Regions from separate parts of the Homo sapiens genome. Here region 1 is linked to region 2. Evidence: promoter capture Hi-C in human tissues and cell types (Jung and others, 2019). All regions are on one chromosome and are shown on one strand. The core of a region is centred on a gene start or on the middle of the fragment in contact, and the rest is flanking DNA. Distances in the headings are between cores, read along the strand shown.

What was found. Contacts are between HindIII fragments. The study calls those that stand out against the background at their distance.
Region 1: a contact is called between a fragment that was not itself captured here and the fragment with the promoter of DPH7 in region 2, in 4 of the 25 tissues and cell types used here (H1 embryonic stem cells, aorta, lymphoblastoid cells and 1 more).

What each region holds. Positions count from the first base shown.
Region 1 is chr9:137,705,122-137,712,722 of GRCh38, forward strand. EHMT1 (euchromatic histone lysine methyltransferase 1) reads left to right here. Exons shown (of 27, transcript NM_024757.5): 2 at 5,846-5,909. Among named protein-coding and RNA genes, the nearest start is that of EHMT1, 90 kb to the left of the region's middle. RefSeq lists an enhancer at 3,376-4,337. The HindIII fragment of the contact is 3,261 bases long and covers 4,392-7,601 here.
Region 2 is chr9:137,575,952-137,583,359 of GRCh38, forward strand. It overlaps DPH7 (diphthamide biosynthesis 7), which reads right to left and starts at 2,974. Exons shown (of 9, transcript NM_138778.5): 1 at 2,674-2,974; 2 at 1,519-1,652; 3 at 129-216. The coding sequence starts at 2,826. It overlaps ZMYND19 (zinc finger MYND-type containing 19), which reads right to left. Exons shown (of 6, transcript NM_138462.3): 5 at 7,032-7,212; 6 at 6,130-6,735. The coding sequence ends at 6,592. RefSeq lists enhancers at 1-519, 3,254-4,225, 3,320-3,379 and a silencer at 2,660-3,069. The HindIII fragment of the contact is 7,311 bases long and covers 1-5,435 here.

The sequences.
Region 1 (7,601 bases), core at 4,772-7,271, 130 kb after region 2:
TGGGACTACAGGTGTGTGCCACCACTCCTAGCTAATTTTTAAAAATTGTTTGTAGAGATGGGGGTCTCACTGTTTTGTCTAGGCTGGTCTTGAACTCCTGAGCTCAAGCAGTCCTCCTTCCTTGACCTCTCAAAATGCTGGGATCACAGGCATGAGCCACTACACCGGCCTGGGAATTCCTTTAACTTGCGTTTGAAAGTTGGACATGAAATCTCCTGAGTGTTCTTGAGTTTGGGCAGATGTACTGAGGATAAGAAGAACTTCCAAGGAGCTGGGTTTTTCTGGACTTGAGATAATGTGATTTTTAAGTGGCAAGAACTGAAGCCAGTGTTTGAGTGAGAATTGGAATGTGTGCATGCTTCGTGTTCATGCTTTGCACACACTGGTTTTGTTCTCTTACCCACCGTCCTGGTGTGTACTCTACATTGTGCACAAGTTGTGGCACTAAAAATGTAAGGTCTGTTGCTCAGGTGGAAATGGACTGGTCATGTGTTTTGCCGTGCGGGCGCAGAGGTCAGGCTGGCTCTGTGGTTAGCAGGTGCAACCCACGCGGAAGGGGAGGAGGGGTTTCCTGACTGAGCGAGAAGCCCCAAGTCAGGGCTGTCCTCCCAGGGTAGGTTTGGAGTAGGCACTGCACTCAGTCTCTTGTTGCTGTGAGGTTGGGGGATGGCCCTAGAGGGCTGTGGCAGTCTTGGGGCTGTGAGGTCTGGACCAGCCCTGCCCTGGTACCTGTACTGACCAAGAGAGGCCCACGGTCCCCTCCTCTCCCCACAGCTCTGGGGCTCCTGTCTACCTCTGAAAAGTGAGTTGCAGTGCCTCCCTCTCCTGGACTTCCAAATTGCGAGGTGGGGAAGGCCCAGGCCGTTCTTCCTGGAGTGGACCTGGACCCTTCACTTCTGCCTGGGCTCCTCTGCCTTGTGCGTTGGGGGGTTGGGGGTGGGGCGTCAGCAGGGGTGGGGCATCAGGGGCGGGGCTAGGCTCTGCCAGTCAAGGCACACGGGGCCATGGCAGGGCAGGGCATGCAGAGCCGACCTGGCCTGGGGGTTGGCGAGTCCTGGACCATCCCGGGGAGTTGTAGGTTGGGGCTCCTGAGGGAAATGCAGATGATTTTTTTGGGAATTTTTTGGCTAGGCTTCCTGGACTGGGCAGAGCTTCTGCAGTGCGGGGTCTGAGTCCAAGTAGTTTGCTCACTCCAGCTAGGTGGATGTTGTGAGTGGAAAGGTCTTGATTTAGGATACATAAAACACAATTTTGTTTTAACTAATTCATTTTGTTTTGCTTAGATCAAGGAGAAGGAATAATGTGCTAGGCTGAATGATTGAGATGAGACAGCATTTCTGTCACTGTTATGAACAGGAGCCCTTCCTCCCCTTATTTATTTTTGAGACGGAGTCTCGCTCTGTTGCCCAGGCTAGAGAGCAGTGGCGTGATCTCGGCTCACTGCAACCTCCGCCTCCTGGGTTAAAGATATTCTCCTGCCTCAGCCTCCTGAGTAGCTGGGATTACAGGTGCCTGCCACCACGCCCAACTAATTTTTGTATTTTTAGTGGAGATGGGGTTTTGCCATGTTGGCCAGACTGGTCTCGAACTCCTGACCTCAAGTGATCCGCCTGCCTCGGCCTCCCAAAGTGCTGGGATTGCAAGCGAGAGCCACTGTGCCTGGCTTCTCCTTTTTATTGAGACATTATTTATCTTTTATACATATATATATATTTTTTGAGATGGAGTTTTGCTCTTTTGCCCAGGCTGGAGTGAAGCAGCGTGATCTCAGCTCACTGCAACCTCCGCCCCCGCCCAGGTTAAAGTGATTCTCCTGCCTCAGCCTCCCGAGTAGCTGGGATTACAGGCATGTGCCACCACTCCCGGCTAATTTTTATATTTTTAGTAGAGACGGGGTTTCGCCATGTTGGCCAGACTGGTCTCCAACTCCTGACCTCAGGTGATCCACTCACCTTAGCCTCCCAAACTGCTGAGATTACAGGCGTGAGCCAGCGCGCCTGGCCTATCATTTACATTTGTATTGTAAACTAATTTGTCCTTAATCTGGAGGTTTCATAAAATCCTAGAGTCCGTCAGCCATAAGGAGACTTGGCAGCGCTGCTTGGGGGGGCTGGTCTCCGAAGCCAGCCTGTGGTGCTTCAGCACCCTAGGAGCAGCCCCTGGGCTACAGAAGCAGCATCCCTTGCTGGGAGAAAACCTTCCCGAGCCTCCTGGAAGTCAGGAGAGGCCACGGTTCTGGAGGAGAGGGCGGAGCCGCTGCCTTGCAGAGCCTGGTCTGTCTGCCTCTGCTGGGCCTCCCTCCTCCCCGGTGCCCCCTTTTCCTTTCGCCTCTGCCCTGGGCCATCCTCAGCTGTCCCTTAATGGAAGTGAGCACTGGGGATGCTACAGACCAGGCAGAGGCATCTGTGCTGTGTTTCTGGCCCTAACACTGGTATGAGGCCTGGCATGTTGGTCAGTGCTTGTCAGAGGATTCCTGAGTGCAGTTGAATTGGACACACAGCAGAATGGTGGATGATTCTAGACATTATTCGGTAGTGTGTTACATAGCATTCTTAAACATTTTTTCAAAAGATTACAAAACTTAATTTCGTGGGTAGGATTTGTGGCTGGTGGTGGTGATGAGGACTGTGAGATGGAGTGGGGTTTGGCGGGTGCCTCCAGGAGGGGACAGCATGTGAGGGGCACAGCTGGTGCCCAAAAATGCCTGTAGACCCCGGCAGCCTCACAAGGTCTGCCCTGCCATGCTCCACCCCGGCTCATCTCAGGCCAGGAGACCTTGTCGGCAGAGCTGTGCCGTGGCAGGCAGGGTGTCTTTGGTGTGCCTCAAGGCCCTGCTCTTAAAAGTATTGAGGACCCCAGAGGGCTCTTGTTTATTGGGTTGTATCTAATGATAGTTACTGTAAAAGAAATGAAAACTGAAAAGTTAAAAATCACATTTTTAAAAAATAATAAAAGTAAACATGTAACATTTTATTTACATGTTAGGGAATACAGCAGTTTCTGTGAAAAGTACTTTTTCTGAATGAAAAAAACTCAGTTGAATGGCATTGTTTTCCATGTTGGTCCATCTCTGTCATGTCTGGCTAATCGAAGAGTCAGCTGGATTTGCAGATTGGCTTCTGCACCCAGCCTGAGGTGATACTGTCTGAAGAAAATCTGGTCTCCCATAGACATGTGGTTGGCAAGGGGGAAGTATTTTGATATCTTTTCAGATAATTGCAGCTATTCTGCTTTGATATGACACGAAAACTCAACAAGGTGAAACTGTGCCAATGACCTTCTTCCTCTGTGACATTAAAGCCCATCTTGGATGCATCTTTGTCCCATGCGTGATTTTGAATATTAGGCACTGGGCATTTGGGGAGTGTCAGCTCACCTTGTTAGGAAGATCTTCCCCATGTTGACACATTTTATTATATGGTATCAAAAATCATAGTCACTAATGATACCGCTCATGTAATAAGAAAAGTCATAAATATGGAGAAACTTTCAAGCTCATGGGGACAGATACACATTTACATGTGTTTCGAAAATTCAAAAGGTAGAGTTTTAACATTGGCAACAAATACTACTGGTTGTTTTCTTTGAGGCTCACTCTGTTCTGTGGAAATGTCTGCCAGATGTCCAGGTCTGACTGAGTGGCATGTCCAGGCCTGAGTGGCATGTCCAGGTCTGAGTGGCATGTCCAGGCCTGAGTGGTATGTTCAGGTCTGAGTGGCATACATTTTGCCAGTTGTTCTTTTAAGTGAAGATGCTCTGTGAGTGAGGAAAGCTTCGGGTTCCACGCAGCCACTGTGCCTGGCCTGCTGCCTGCCCCCTTCCTCTGATGTGGAACGCTGGAGAGCTGTGCTCACAGGCCATCATCTCACTGCCTCATCCAGGGCACTCTCAGGCGAGCCCCCCAAGTGCCTGCTGGTCAAGAGTTCAGTTGCTGGAGTACACTTCGGTGTCCTGACCTGGTCGATGCAAAGGGGCTGACACCACCGCTTGGGCACCGTCTGTGCAAATATCAGCACAGTGAAAAAGGCAATTGAGGTCCTAGTATTACCATGAAAATAGTTTTGACCTCCTGGACTCCTGGAAGGATTGCAGGGACCCCGGAGAGCTCCTGTTGGGGGGTAGGTGTGAAGGGTGCAGGCTGAGCTGGCTGGCGTACAGCTGTGATGGACCAGGAAAGGTAGCGTGCTCTGCATGTTCGAGGGCTGGCCATGAGCAGCTGGGCTGCTGGCCCTGGCTTGGCAGTGGGAGATCAGGGGGTGGGAGGTGGAAACCTGGGCCCCCCTGCCTTACCGTGGTGGGGTGGGCTGTGCACAGTTGCTAAGACCAGCTCCTGGGGAGGGTGATGCAGTTAGGTCCGGTGTTACCAAGTCAGCCCAGAAGGCAGCGAGACCATATGGATGTGAGCCCTGGAAAGCAGTAGGCACATCCGGGCTCAGGTAGGGGCTGGCCTGGCGTCTGCTTTGTGGGGAGGAGGGGTTCTGTTGAGAGGCCCCATTGTTGACATGTTTTCTCATCCAGACGCTGGACACCCGGGTTTTTGCAGCCTCTTCTTACCTGTTGATAGTCAATTAAAGATGGAATCAGTGCGTGGCTGGCCTCCTGCAGCTGTCTGACTGGCTGCTCCTAGTGACCTCGGGCAAGTCTGTGCCTCTCCTCTTCTGGTTGTGGACTCGGAGCACCAAGTGTGCCTCCCTCAGTTGTTCCTATTTTATCACTCTGACCCGGAGGCTTCCTGCCCACTTCCAGCTTCCAGTGGCCTCACCAGAGGGCTTTCTCCAGTATCACATCACCAGGTGTGGGTGTCAGCCTGACAGCTCCCACTTGCAGTCTGGCATCTCCAACTGCCCAGAGTGGTCAGCAGCCCTCTTCCCCGGCCCCCAGCTGTGGGTGGGGCATTTGCAGACTCCCTGCTGCCTCCTTATGGACTCCATGGTCCTGCTGCTGCGTCGGGAGAGGCCTGGCTAGGAGTGTTTTATGTGTTTATGTTCACTTCTCCAACCAGACTCTAAGCTTCTTGAAGGCAAGGATTTTTGTGTAAAAAAAAAAAAAAAAATTCTGTCCAAGTGCCACCCAAGTGCAGTGGCTCACACCTCTAATCCCAGCACTTTGGGAGGCTGAGGCGGGCGGATCACTTGAGGCCAGGAGTTTGAGACCAGCCTGGCCAACATGGCGAAACCCCCATCTCTACTGAAAACACAAAAAGCATCTGGGTGTGGTGGTGTGCACCTGTAGTCCCAGCTACTCAGGTGGGTGAGGCCTGAGAATCGCTTGAACTGTGGAAGCAGAGGTTGCAGTGAGCCGAGATCGCGCCACTGTACTCCAGCCTGGGCGAGAGAGTGAACTCTGTCTCAACAAAAAAATTGTAAGAGGCCTTGTATAATACATACCTCTATAGATGCTTAATCTCAAAGATTTAGTGATTTAAGTTCCTTATTGAATTTTCTTGATTTATCTATTTCTATAATTTTTTGTAGGAGGTTGGACATTTGAAATATATGAATTATTGTCAGCAGTAGAATGCATTTTGAAATAAATTGTAACACTCCTGTAACAGAGCCCAAAGATTTCAGATATCTAATTATATAAATGATACATGAATGCGTTCTTATTGTTAAGAAACTGTCTTCAAAAATAGAAATACAGGAGAAGTTTCCTTGGACTGTGTTCTGAATGCCAGTTCTTCTGCTGGAGGCGACTGTAACCAGCTGGCAGGAGTAAATCTGACTGTCCAGCAGCTCATGGTGAATGTTGTAACTACGATTTTTTGACTTTTTCCAAATGATGTCCATTTGGAAAAGCGGCCTCCCACTGAACCCGGCTGACGGCTGTTGTTTCTCTCTAACAGGCAGTTCCGGCGAGGGGGGAGCCTCAGCAGGATTGCTGTGTGAAAACCGAGCTGCTGGGAGAAGGTGAGGGCGGTGTGCACCGAGGGACAGGAGCAGCGCCTCCCTCCAGACTAGAAAACCTGCTGCTCTTCCTCTCTTATTAGTCCCCGTCTTCTGACTTTCTTTGCTTCACCTAGGTTTATGGTATAGTTTCTAATCTATCCCATTCCTAAATAGCACAGTTGCACAGACAAACACAAAAGCTCTGCCAGAGAAGGAACACATTTGTCAAAGTATGAAAAGCAAAAATCCTGTATATCCTTGTCTTAAAGTACACCCAGAAAATTAAAAGTGAGTGGCCACACAAATGTTTATAGCAGCATTGTCACGTCGCCGAAAACCGGAGACACTCCGGTGTCCTCAGTTGATAAGGAACTGGATAAACAGATCGTGGTACATCCACACAGTGGGACAGCGGTCAGCAGCCCAGAAGAGCACACAGCATGACTGACGCCGCGCCATGGATGAAGCTTTTGTACGGTTTGTTAAGTGAAGGAGGCCAGACCCAAAGGGCCACAAGCTGCATGACTCCAATTTTATGGCAGACACTTGGAGAACAGCAGTGGTTACCAGGAGGTGGAGGGAGTGGTGTGGAAGCAAGTGTCTGCAGAGAGGCAGGGTGAGGGGAGTTGGGGCGAGGGGAGTCGGCGGGGCTGCACCCCTCTGTAAGGCGTGGCGCACACATAGGGTTCGGATGTTCTTGGAGAGCCTGCACCACCAAGAGCGCCCCCAGGAAATGAGGGCAGGTGGCGCCAGACGAGCTGTGCTGTGCTCCACAGTGAAGGGAGAGTGGTGTTCTGGCTGGACCCATAAGGGTGGCGGCCGTGGGAGCAGCTCAGACACTGGACTTGCCTAAGGCTCTCCCAGCTGGAGCCTGCTCCTCTCCAGACAGCGCGCAAGGCCTGGCTCCTCATGGACTGTGGGCTGTGGCCCCTGCCGTGTTCTCCTTTCACCCTAGATGGCCTCGCTGTGCCTGTGGGTTCTCGTCCACCCACTGGCTGTGCACTGTGGTGACCGCTGCCCGCCTCTGCCGCTACCCCTAGCCGGCCCTCCAGGGTTGCCCCCACCTCCTGCGCCATCCACCTCCTGCAGCCTGACTGGGTGTTTTCTTCCTGTACTTTGGCCCCTTCCTGTTGCCGTCCTTTCTGTGTCTTTGAACTGTTTCTTCTGTTGGCTCCAGTGCCCTCCGGCTCTTCCCCCTTCTCTCCCTGGTCACCCCTCCTTTGACCTTCCTAGTGGAACTTGTTTCCTACGTGACACCAGATGCCACAAGCCCCAGGTTATTCCATTACGCTTTAGGCTTTGCCTGTGCCCTGTTCCCTTACACACTGCCGCTGAGCCACGGCCTCTCCACCCTGGGGGAACTGCTGGACCCCCACGGTGGCTGCCCCATCTTGCTTTCCCTGCAGCAGTTGCAGAGGGCTCCAGGTTCTCCACGTCCTCGCCACCATTTCTTAGTGTCTGTGGCTGTCCTGGCGGGTGGGAAGTGGCATCTCATTGTGGTTTTGGTTTGCATTTTCCTGACGGCCAGTGATGTTGAGCATCATTTCGTGTGCTTACTGGCCATCTTTAGAGCTTCTTTGGAGAAATATCTCTTCTCCTGTGATTTCAAATTGGATTGATTTTTATTGTTGAGTTTTCAGTGTTCTTTATATAAGCAGAAGTCCCTTATCAGCCATGGGATTTGCAAATATTTTCTTCCGGTCTGTGGCTTGT
Region 2 (7,408 bases), core at 1,724-4,223:
AACGTTTATATATAGCTCACCATTGAAGAGAGATCGTTTTAGAAAAATGTCTGTATCAGCACAGCCTCCTCCCCAACCCTCTCTATTCAGGTCCCTTCTGCCCCACAGAACAAGTGCAAGTCACTGACCTCAGATTCCACCAGGCGGAGCAGTTGTATGGATCCACTGGCATCTGCCAAGCCCAAGAGGGCATGTCCAGCCACCGGGATGTGACACCTGAGGAGAGGGCCCACCATAAGCACACCAATGTGCCCGGAGCACAGGCGTGCACTGTGCGTCCCGGTAACCACAGTCACGCTTCCCTTAACAACGGGGCTGCAGTCCACGCAAACCCAGCTGGGACATCCTACTACACACCTTGATTATATGGTATGGCCCACTGCTCCTATGCCACAAACCTTACAGCATGTTACTGCAGGCAAGTGTGACACAACAGGAAGTGGTTGTATATCTAAACATAGAAAAGATACAGTAAGAATACAATATAAAGGATAAAAAACAGGTGGCCGGGCATGGTGGCTCACACTTGTAACCCCAACACTTTGGGAAGCTGAGGTAGGAGGATGACTTGAGGTAAGGAGTTCGAAACCAGCCTGAGCAACATAGCAAGACCCTGTTTCTACAAACTAACAAACAAACAAAAATGAGGTGTGGTAAGGCCAGGCGTCGTGGCTCACGCCTGTAATCCCAGCACGTTGGGAGGCTGAGGCGGGTGGATCACGAGGTCAGGAGATCAAGACCATCCTAATAACATGGTGAAACCACGTCTCTACTAAAAATACAAAAAAATAAGCCGGGTGTGGTGGCGGGCGCCTGTAGACCGAGCTCTTAGGGAGGCTGACGCAGGAGAATGGCGTGAACTCAGGAGGCGGAGCTTGCAGTGAGCCGAGACCGCGCCACTGCACTCTAGCCCGGGCGACAGAGCGAGACTCCGTCTCAAAAAAAAAAAAAAGAGGCATGGTGGCATCTACCTGAAGTCTGAAGTCTCAGCTACTCGAGAGGCTGAGACAGAGAATTGCTTGAGCCCAGGAGTTCAAGGCTGCAGTGAGCTATGATCACGTGACTGCATTCCAGCCTGGGCAACGGAACAAAACCCTGCCTCAAAAAAAAAAAAATTAAAAAGGATAAAAACTGGTACACCTGTATAGGGCATCTCCATTACGTTAAGGCACCACCATGGTATACGTGCTCCATTGTTGACCAAAACATAATTATGCCACACACCACTGCATTTAAATCTCAGCTCCAAAAGTGGGCTAGAGCCTACAACTGTGTTCTCAAACAAAAGACGCCCCAGGTTATGAAGTCAGAAAACTCCCATCACTTCCCCGGCTGGAACATGACAAAGGAAATAAGCCCCAGGTAAAGCACTCCCCAGGTGGAAGATAGGCGGGACAGCAAAGAAACAAATCCAAAGTTGAGATGCAATGCCTGTCTTGTTGAAGGCATCAGGCATCAGGCTTCCCTGATTGCTACTCATGACAAATTCTACACCCAGTGGGATTATCACAGTTATACCATTTCATGTCCAGGATTGCAGAAGTATCTTTTCTTTGGACCTCGACCAGAGGGTGAATAGAGTTGTTGTCATTGAAACTGTACAGGAAGAGACGGCCTAAACGGACCTGAGGCTCCTTAACTTCCATTCCACCCTACAAAAAATGCAGAGGTAGTCTCTGATTATCCCAAGACACGAAGGAACCCAAAGGATGGGAAAAGGGATCCAAGGAACTCAAAGGTTTGCCATGACTAAAGGAGTGGAATTCTGCCTGGAAGGAGAACCTCTGGTTTTCTGAGCTGGAGAAACGTCTATTAATGAGTAGGTGAACACTCCTGGACCCAGTAGAGAAGGCTCCTTCTAAACCGGCCAACAGGGACCAGCTATGGCTAGGGTAACCACAGAACCCAGTTTGCCTGGGACAGTCCTGACTTACGCCTGTTGTTCCAGTGCCCAATTTGGATCCTAATATGTACCCACCAGAAGTTAAGATATAATTCCCACTTTCTCTTTACTGTACATTCCACCCATTCCCTTGGGCCACACCTGTATATAGAAGACGTTCTGCTCTCAAGATTTTAAAGTTGGCCGGGGGCGGTGGCTCGTGCCTGTGGTGCCAGCTACTCAGGGGGTTGAGGCGGGAGGATGCCCTGAGCCCTGGAGTCCGAGGCTGCACTCCAGCCTGGGTGACAGTGCAAGACCTTGTCTCAGAAAAAAGTAATTTCTTTTTTTTGAGATGTAGTCTTGCTGTATCGCCCAGGCTGGAATGCAGTGGTGCGATCTCGGCTCACTGCAAGCTCTGCCTCCCGGGTTCACGCCATTCTCCTGCCTCAGCCTCCCGAGTGGCTGGGACTACAGGCGCCGCCACCACGCCCGGCTAATTGTTTTGTATTTTTTTAGTAGAGACGGGGTTTCACCATGTTAGCCAGGATGGTCTCGATCTCCTGACCTCGTGATCCGTCCGCCTCGGCCTCCCAAAGTGCTGGGATTACAGGCGTGAGCCACTGCGCCCGGCCGAGAACAATTTTTTTAAAAAGATTCTAAACTGTTTCCAGCCTACCTCCTGGCCAAAGGGCCAATATCCCCTCTTCATCTCCTGGGCGATTCGGTGCGCCTTTCGGCCTCAACCTCGTGGCCGGCCCCGCCCTCCCCTCCCGAAGCCGCGGCGCGCGCACCTTGTTCTGGGGGCCGGCAGGCCGGTCCTCCGGCCGCCGCAGCTGGTAGGTCCCGCACGCCAGCAGGTGCCTGCAGCCTTGCAGCGGGCACCACTCCACCGAGTCCGCGGTCAGCTCGGTGTCCACCGTTTGCAGGGCGAAACAGCCCATCATCCAGCCCTCGGGGAAGGGCGCGGAGCCGGCAGTAGAGGCGGGTCGGCGGGGCCGGGCTGGGTACTGCGCGGGGCGGCGAGGCCGGGGCCGGCCGGACGAGCGCAGAGCCCCAGGGACACCGTCAGCGCGGGCCGCCTCTCTCGCGACTCCTTCCGGGGTGCCGGGGCGGGACATCCGGCAGGGCCTTGGCCTCCGTGGACGCCCCTGGGAAGCCAGGCTCCCACGCCCCCTGTCGGCCGGCTGACCGCGGCGGGCTTCAGGCGTCAGACGCGCTGCTCCCTGCGGGGCCGTAGAGACCGAAGGCTTCGGGAAATCCGCTCCTCCACAAAGCAGGTTTGGAGACGGCAAGTTAGTGACAGAGCCGTAGGTTTGAAGCCGCCTCTGCAAAATTTCTATCACTGAGAAAAACCCCAACAGCGAGCTGCGGTAGCGCACCCCGTGGCGCCCTCCCGGTTACTCCTGGCCATCGGGCCGCGCTGACTTAACATTTAGGCTGCAGTTTCCATGACAGGCCTTGCCCCGGAATCAACGCCTTCGTAAAGCTGATGAGGAGCCCGCGCCCCACTAAGCCCAGCACCCCGAGGCCGCAGGCGCGCTCTGCCTGCCTCCTGTGAACCCGCCATGGCGGAGCTGCCCCTCAGAGACCGCCTTCCAGGGTCTTTGCTTGTCTGACACCCGTGGCTGCATCAGGACCCCCCAGAAGCGGCTCAGCAGGTGGACGGCTCCGACCCCTATGATTATCAGCACCAGTCGCCTGGCCGCCGCCCCCCTCCCCCAAAACTGCCTTTGAAAAAACCCCTAACCTAGGAGCTTTGGACAAGATGATCTGAGGACGAACTCCATCTCACATGTGGCCTGGCCGGCCCGTGTCTATTAATTTTTTTGTTTTTTTTTTTTGAGACGGAGTCTTGCTCTGTCACCCAGGCTGGAGTGCAGTGGCGCGATCTCAGTTCACTGCAAGCTCCGCCTCCCGGGTTTAAGCCATTCTCCTGCCTCAGCCTCCCCAGTAGCTGGGACTACAGGCGCGCATCACCACGCCCAGCTAATTTTTTGTATTTTTAGTAGAGACGGGGTTTCACCGTGTTAGCCAGGATGGTCTCGATCTTCTGACCTCGTGATCCACCCGCCTCGGCCTCCCAAAGTGCTGGGGTTACAGGTGTGAGCCACTGCGCCCGGCCCTAAACTTTTTTTCTTTATTGCAATCCACGGTCTGAATGTGTGCAGCGGGCAGGAAGAACCCCTTGGGCCGTTACAGGTTGAACTGTGCCCCCCAAAAAACAATGGACTGAAGACCCCAGCACCTCAGAGAGCATCCTTAACAAACAGGGGCTCTCAGAAGCAGCAGGCGTGGGCCCTGACCCAGAGGAGCAGGAGTCCGCAGAAGAGAAAGCTGATGCAGAAGACTTGCAGGGCCATTGCTGTGCAGAGCACAGGGAGGCAGGCAAGGCACCTGGCAGGGAGGAGGCGTCCGCACCTGAGGGCCCTTGCCTGCGCCTTCATCTGAGACTCCGGCCTCCAGAGCCTAGACTGTGAATTCCCGCTGCTTCAGGCTGCACAGCTCGCGCTGCTTTGTTGCGGCAGCTCCAGGAAGCTAAGGCGGACTTGACTGAAATATACGGGTGCCTGGGTATTCAGCCTCAGGGCTTCAAGCAGGGCTGTGGCTAAAGACATGGCAGAGAGCCAACAGCTCAGACCACCACAGAGACAGAGGCGCAGAAAAGGCTGGCCAGGAAGGCAGCAGGGCATTCCAAAAGGGCCTCAACCACACACCTCTGCGGGGGAGGGAGAGTGACCAGGTGCGCATCCCAACACACCACACTCCAAACAAGCTTTAGAAGCAGCCCCACATTGCAGCCATCTGGATGTCCTCACAGGACGTCTTAGATACCTGGCTACGAAGACCAAGAAGTCGGGGCCACGGAACGGGAAAGATGACCAGAGGATTGGGTATCAGGTGAGAGGGAAGCAGTGGTGGGGCCCGTCCCACCCTCACGGTGCCACCTGCTGGGGTGAGGCCTGGAGGAGCTGCCACATGCAAACCTAGAACCTGCACCGCCCCCTTCCCCAGCGTGGTGTCTCACAGGTGGGAGGCCCTGGGCGCTTCTTTCAGTGCACTTTTCTGATGAATGACTGCCAAACAAAGCAGCCCTGCTGGTCAGGGGCAACATGGCCACACCCCTGGATGCAGGTAAAGGGGACCCCTGCACTCCGTGCTCATCCTCAGACTCTATCTGAAAGCAGGCTGCCTGAGGGCACTCGGGGCTCCAGGCCTGAAGACTGCCCCAAACCCCAACCTGCTGACCCGCCATCTCTAGGGACACATATGTCCCCCTCCCTGGCAGCTTTCACCTACTCAGCAAAAAATGTCCCCAACCTTTGCAGCAGCTAAGGGGGCTTCTCAGGGCCTGATGTGGGCACATGCAGTTCTCTAAGCTCCAGGAAATCCTGCGGAGTTTGTTGATATCACCCATTTTCAGCAGTCCTGTTCTTCAGGAGCCCCCAGGGTACTGCCAGAAAAGGTACTGGAAGTTTTGCTTACAGACAAAAGCCAGCCCAGCCAGGGGCAGCAATGAGAACACACAGGGTGTCCTGGAACATGGCAGTGGAGCTTCAAGAAGGGAAAGTGTAGCAGCAACCTGTGGGACCAACACAGGGTCGGACCGGACCAGACCAGACAGGTCAGAGTCGGACTGGCCAGGCTTCCAGCTCCCAAGAAGCAAGGCCTCTGGCTGGGCGCACCTGGAGACAGGCAGGATCCCAGCCACACAGCCTGGCATGTTTCCCTGGGGCAGCTCTATGGGTACAAGATGCTGACCAGCCCCAGACACCTGGGGCTCCCCAAGGAGAGGGAGGGCTATCCTGGAAACCACAGCCCTGCAGACGGACGGAGAAGTGAGACCCTCACCTCACCCTGGCTGGCCAGCCCCCTCCACCATCTGCAGCAGGCCTGCTGAACATGCCCTGTGGATTCTTCTGGGCAGAAGCTCACTGCTGAGCTCCCAGCCACTTCATGCATAAATCAGGCAAGAACTAACCAATGTCAGGGGCGAGAGCATCCTACTCCCCATAAAACAGCGGGCAGCTGACTTAGCAACCCCACCACTCCTGCCGCAAGACAAGGACAGAGTCTCACTCATACTCCCTGCTGGACTCAGGAAGGTCTGAGCTCACCCGCTCCTCAGAAGGGCCCACCAGGAACAAGGGTCCTCCTGCCTCACCCACAAGGACTCGGCTCCACTCAAAATGACCTCACCCTAAGCAGCACAAGAGGGAGGCGGAGCAGAGAATGTCCGAGAGGCCAGATGATTCCACCCCTTTACTTTGCCTTTGTGGACACAACTCCCGTGCAGGCCGCGCTCCACGGGGCTCCCGGCGGCCCAGGGGAGAAGCTTCGACAACAGGACAGTTTTTAGTCACGTGGCCTGACCGTTTGCCATTTAAGGATTACAGCAAATGATTCTATTTGTAATTTCTACCCTTCCCATTGCCTCCCCCCCAAAAAAAACTGTACATGAGTTTACAAACATATTAACATATAAATAATGAGAACCGTCCTGGTGGGAGCCTCCTCCGTTGTCTCTGCTGGAGATGAACACTGAGGGGCGCTGTAACCACACAGACTGCCTGTGACATCGGGAGTCTCACGGCAGCTGTCCTGGGCCCGCAGCTGGCTTTTTTGGCACCTCCAGGTTCAACCACCAGTCTGTCTCTGCTGTGCCCAGGGTAGAGCCCGGGGGCTGTGAGTATGTGTGGCTCCCCTGCCCGTCATCGCTCTGGCTCAAGCTCATGCTGGAAGGGACGCTTCCTCTCCCGACAGTGCTTCTTGTGGGCAGGCCAGTCCTTCTGCTGGCACTGGGAGCCGCAGTACCGGGCCACCTGGCAGCGCCCACAGATGTTGAACTCCCGGAGCTGAAATACAGAACACCTGTGGCTTCACCATCATGCCTGGGACGCAGTGTGGGGCAAAGGCTGCGTCTTACGGACAATCTGACGGACCCAGCAAAACACCACGTACCAAGGCTGGAGGGCCTGGGCCCTGGTCAGGCCAGCACAAGGGCAAAGGGAGACCACTCTGGTGGAAAAGCCCAAGAGGTGCTAAGCGGTCTCTGGGGAATGGGACCCCGCGGTGGAGGGCAAGATCCCAAACCAAGGCTGGGCTACAGGGTAGAGGTGCCAGGGACGCGACCGCACTGCAGCACACCCACCTGCTTCTCAATCACTGTGCAGGGAGGGTAGTGGCACTCATAGTAGGTGCAAGAGTTCTCCTCCTCTTCCACTACATCCCCGTTGGCATTATAATACCGGGTCACATTTAGGACAGGAAACTGTTCTTCTATAGGGTCTGTAGGCAGCTGCTGAATTGCAAGCCAATACAAGCTTTGCTCCCTTAAAGAAAGAAGCAGACACTTGAGTGCACTCTGGCCAAACGGGGCCAGCACACAGCAGACGATGCAATGACTCCATAGAGTGCCATCCTGCCCAGGACACCCAGCCCGAGTTTGAGTCTCCTTTGGCCCATCCCTGCTGCATGTGCTTTTCACCACCTGACAGTAAATATTGTGTCTCATCTTCCCACTAACCC